2 separate regions of the Homo sapiens genome follow, and region 1 is linked to region 2. The links are contacts of gene promoters, found by promoter capture Hi-C in human tissues and cell types (Jung and others, 2019). All regions are on one chromosome and are shown on one strand. The core of a region is centred on a gene start or on the middle of the fragment in contact, and the rest is flanking DNA. Distances in the headings are between cores, read along the strand shown.

Region 1 (2,700 bases), core at 136-2,635, 250 kb before region 2:
TCCTCCCGCTTTGGCCTCCCAAAGTGCTGGGATTACAGTCGTGAGCCACCGTGCCCAGCCAGATCTCACTCTTTTGAAAGGTTTCAGTACACATGCAATTGATTTCTTCTGTCAGCTAAGATTAAAACTAGCAAAGATACATCACAGAAAAATAATATACGTATATATACACCCACCCACCACATAACTACTCAGTGAGGCCACATATGTTTAAAATGTTTTATTGAGCATTGGCATTTATCATTAATGAGCTGAATTTAACTGCTAAGGAACTGTGAAAGATAAGTCTGTCTACCTGAGTGTGAGCCAGAACATACTACTGAAGCTACTCTCTATAGTTATAAAAAATTAAGGTCAGAAGTGGCCAATTTGGCTTCTTTTTCAAAGATATCTCAGTTTTGGCTAACTGTTAACCCCAGGACTCTCTTTAGAGCATCTTTCATGTCTTTGTTTCGAAGACTATAGATAAGGGGATTTAAGAATGGAGTCATTGCTGTGTATACCAGAGTGATGATCTTCTGCATTCCTGCTGGGTTCCCTGATGTTGGGCTCACATACATCACCATAAGGGTTCCATAGAATAGAGACACCACCATTAGGTGGGACCCACATGTGGAGAAAGCTTTAGTTCGACCAGCACCAGAGGGAATACAAAGCACAGCTCTGATGACCAGAGTGTAAGATCCCAAGATGGAGAGGAAGGGCCCAAAGATAATCATCGAGTTGAAGGTGTAACAGATAAGCTCAGTGGAAGGAGCAGAGATGCAGGCCAGTGCAAACAATGGGCCTGGGTCACACACCAAGTGGTCAATGATGTTGGGCCCACAGAAGGGAAGTTGGGAGATAAGAACAATAGGGACTGGATAGCAGAGAAATCCGCCTACCCAGCATACACAGACCAGAATTATACAGAACTTCCCAGTCATGATGGAGGGGTAGTGTAATGGACGACAGATGGCCAGGTACCGATCATAAGCCATAACTGATAAAAAGAAACACTCTGTTGTACCCAGTGAAAAAAAGAAATAGAATTGCAGGAAGCAACCAGAGAAGGAGATGGTTTTAATCTCAGAGAGGATATTGACTAGCATGTTTGGGACAGTGGAGGAAATGTACCAGATCTCTAGAAAGGCAAAGTTTCCCAGAAGGATGTACATGGGTGTGTGGAGCCGCCTGTCCAATTTCACTGCACAGACAATAGCTCCATTCCCTAGCAGTGTCAGGAGATAGAGAACCAGGATGAATGAGAAGAAGCAGCTCTGCATCTCCCTTTGACCATGGAAACCCAGGAGGACAAACTCAGTCACAAAATGCATTGTTCTGTTCTGGGGTCCCAAAGCTGTTAGAAAAACAGAAGTAACCAAAGAATGAATAATAAAGAACATTTGGAGATTTTGCTAACTCATGCTGGATGATGTACTAAGTATTTTTACATACATTATCTCATTTGGTCTTCCTAATGACTCTTTGAGCTGCGAGGAGGTATTCTTTACCCTTCTCTTTCACAGACAGGGTAATTGAAGTTCAAAGAGATTAGAAGGGTTCACTTAAACATATGTACAAAGCCAGTAACGCCCAGATACACTGGCCTATTTGGAGATTGGTTTGGAACAAATCATGTTTCACTTCAAATTTTCTATAACCCTGAGTCTCAGTAATGTTTCATCTTTAATGGTAAAATCACTGCCCCTTAGATACTCTACATATAAATATAAACTTTGGATATATTCTTTTACTTTAAAGCAAAATTGAGTATAAATCTGAAGCAAGAATAGTTGCTATATTAAAATTGCCTTCTTAGAGCCTCATATGTAGAAGTCCAATAAAAAGCAGATAGGAATTAAACTTTGGGGAGTCTTCAGCTCCCTTCCTTTTGCTACTCTCAGGGAGGTGCTGCAGAACCCTTAGGAATCTGTAAAATGGTCTGAAAGCTACAAATCTAGTTCCCCCCAGATCACATTCTCCCTGGTGGCATCTGGATTTGCTGAATAATCCAGCCCCTTTTTCTCGTGAGGAGCTCTAGTTCTCTCAAAGCCCTTCTTTATGGTGAGCAAACTTTGTATCCTTTATTACTTTTACCCATTGATCTTGGTACTCCCCAAGTCAGCAGGTAAACTTTGACTTTGTTGAAACTACACAAAATAAGTCTAATTCCTCTCCCATGATGGTGGTAGTGAGGTCTTAAATAACTGAAGGCAGCTGTTATGTCCCTTACCTATGACTTCTTTGGCAGGCCACCATTTTCCCTGCTTGTCAGCCTCCTTCTCCAACAAATTGTACTATTCTACATCATGACTTAGCTCTTGAGGGAGCTTGCTGTTGGGTAAATCAATTTCTCTAGTAATAAAGCCATGTGCCTTTATTTTTGCTAGAAATTAAGTCCTAAACTTTATAATTTGTCCCTTCATTATCTTGCTTTTCCATAAATTAAATAATGAATAAAAGAGTCACCTCAGGATGTGCAGAGAACAGAAAGATCTTTCTGATATTTTCTAAATCAGGAGTTGAGACAAGATAAATAACTTAGATATTTTGCTAACAATTTTCTAGAAACTATTGGTCCAGCAGGCTTATTTCTGTGTCCTCAAATATCCTTGTTAAAGTTCAGAATATTTGGCTGGGTAAGCCACTATCAATATTTTAAATTTAGCAATATAATGACTTTAAAATTAGGATAATTTATTGTATTATTAGCGTCAC
Region 2 (2,700 bases), core at 96-2,595:
TATATCTGTGGCTTGGAGATATGCACCTATCATTACTCCAAAGTTGGTGTGAGTAGTACTGTTTTCAAAGGGAGAGACAACAGTATATTAACCATTTATAAGGTAATGTCATTTTCTCAATGTCATCAAAGTCTGTATCTTAAGAAATTTTAAAATAAAGAATACAAAGTAGGATATTAAAAAATATACAATGGAGAAAGAATATTTAAAATCACTAAAGTTTATTTCATGAGTTTTTATTATCATTACAGTTTGCTTCAAATCGATCAACTGAGCTTTCCCACAGGCCAAGTTGATTTGCTTTAAGATTACAGTGAATCCACTTGTAAGTGTATGGAGACAGGGCTAAAGTGGTAACAGTCTCATAAGTTTACTTTGTTTCTAGGAAAAGAACATTTCTTATGACTACAGAAACCTGACTAGGCTTCAGATACCGACTCTTCAGTTTTGACATAGCTGCCTTCACTTCTTTGTTTCTTAGCGTGTAGATTACAGGGTTTAAAATAAGCGTGAAGATGGTGTAGAATACAGCAAGGACTTTGTCAACTGAGTAACTGCTGAAGGGCCACACATAGATGAAAATGCATGGTCCAAAGAATAAAGTGACCACAGTGATGTGAGCAGTCAATGTGGAGCGGGCCTTCGCCATGCTTGCAGAGGAGCGATTCCTAACTGTAACAAGTATTACAGTGTAGGAGACAACCAAGAGGAGAAAGGAACTCAGAGAAAGAAAGCCACTATCTGCAACTATTAGTAAGCTGACAACATAAGTGTCTATGCAGGCTAACTTGGTCACTAGAGGAAGGTCACAGAAAAAACTGTCTACCTTATTAGGACCACAAAATGGCAGATTAACAGTGAATGCCAACTGGCTGGTAGTATGGATGAAGCCCACAAACCATGAAATGAGGACGAGCACAACACATACACGACGGCTCATGACTGTCATGTAGTGGAGAGGTTTGCATATAGCAACATAACGGTCATAGGCCATGGAAACTAGGAGCACCATTTCACTGCCAGTGAAGAGATGAACAAAGAAAATCTGGGCCAGGCAGGCATCAAAAGAAATAGTCTTGCGCTCAACCAGAAAGTCTGCAATCATTTTAGGGGTAGCAAAAGAGGCAACACATACGTCTATAAATGACAGGTTTGCAAGCAGAAAGTACATGGGGGTGTGAAGGCGGGAATCTGAGGTCACAGTGAGGATGATGAGAAAGTTGCCCAACAGAATTGCTAGATAAAGTAGTGAAAATGTAAGAAACAAGAAAGGTTGGAGCTCCCTTGAACTAGACAGTCCCAGCAACACAAATTCTGTCACCCGAGAATGATTTGTCTCATTCATCGATTTTGGAAGGGACTTAATTTCAGCTACCTGAATAGGAGAGAAACAGAGATCAGTTAATGAAGTGAGCATGGGTTTGATTTTCCAATTACACTTAAACTTTTCAGAATTCCAATTCCTATTGCTATGTATGTGTCTGGGTTTTCATGAGTTATTACAAGTTATACAGCTAGTACAGCTAAGTATGGAAGATTGCGTTAAAGGGGAGGGTTGTCAAGGAGATGTTCAACCAACTGGGATATCTAAATACATTAATTTAAGAAATAAAATCAACAATCTAAAAATGAATTTGAGCATCTGAAGTTTTTGTGACACTACAGAAATCAGTCTAAAAATCTACGGAGACAAAATCTAAACCAATTTTTTCTAAAGTAAATGATATAAAAATTTTTTGAACATCTGCCACAGAGGAAGATAATTTCACAAACTTGATGACTTAAAAAGTTAGATACGGAAGAGTATACACTGTATTGGTCTATTTAAATGAAGTTCAAAAATGGCAAACTAAGGTGTAGAAAAACCTCCTAGCAGTTATCCTTAAGGGACAGGAAGTGGTCATGGGAGGGGCTTCTGAAGTGCTGGTAATATTCTTTCTTGATGTGGTTGATAGTTACATGGGAGTATTTACTTTATGAAAACTTACTGAAATATGAACTTTTGCTTTTTTCACTTTTGTATACATAAGTTGCATAATTATGAAAATTAAAACAAGAGAGAAAGAGAGACAGCATTAGATTTGCATAAGAGAGCTCACAGGAGAAATCATTGCCTTAAGTGATTATACCTTATTTCTTCTCTACAGTTAAAAATTATATAAACTAAAGTACAGAACCCTGGCAAAATTGAAAGGCCCCAATATTATTGGAACTCTTTTATGATTCAGCTCTTCATGGAGTTCTACTTTATCATGAAATCTAGCACACTGGTTCCTTTCAATTAATCCCTGAAGGTATGAAGCTTCTTTAAACTTAGCCATTGGTGTTACTAACCATAGACATTTTATTGAGCTATGATTGATATTTCATTTGATGTGATGTGGCTTAAAAACTTATAAGTTATATTGCTTACTATAAATACTAATATAACTAATAAGTTATATTACTTATTACTAAGGAATTCAGACCAGGAAAAAAATGATTTTTCTTTTCTATTCAGTTACTCTATATTCTATGTTATCAGAGCTTTCTTCCTTTTGTTATTTTTATTTGTAGAAGCTATTTAGAACTTATAAAAGTTTTATGGAAAATAGGAAAAAATAAAATGTGAATTTTAAAGGAGCATTACATTATCTGATTTTGAAGAATCTTTCTCTACATCTTAATCAGGTCTTGGGAGAGGATGTCTTTTATTTTAAT

Evidence for each region. The method cuts DNA at HindIII sites, captures the fragments that hold promoters and counts their contacts. A contact is called where the count stands out against the background at its distance.
Region 1: a contact is called between the fragment with the promoter of OR11H6 here and the fragment with the promoter of OR4K15 in region 2, in 4 of the 25 tissues and cell types used here (H1 embryonic stem cells, adrenal gland, aorta and 1 more).

What each region holds. Positions count from the first base shown.
Region 1 is chr14:20,222,395-20,225,094 of GRCh38, reverse strand. It overlaps OR11H6 (olfactory receptor family 11 subfamily H member 6), which reads right to left and starts at 1,385. Exons shown (of 1, transcript NM_001004480.1): 1 at 393-1,385. The coding sequence starts at 1,385. The coding sequence ends at 393. The HindIII fragment of the contact is 13,960 bases long and covers 233-2,700 here.
Region 2 is chr14:19,974,236-19,976,935 of GRCh38, reverse strand. It overlaps OR4K15 (olfactory receptor family 4 subfamily K member 15), which reads right to left and starts at 1,345. Exons shown (of 1, transcript NM_001005486.2): 1 at 371-1,345. The coding sequence starts at 1,345. The coding sequence ends at 371. The HindIII fragment of the contact is 7,551 bases long and covers 1-2,700 here.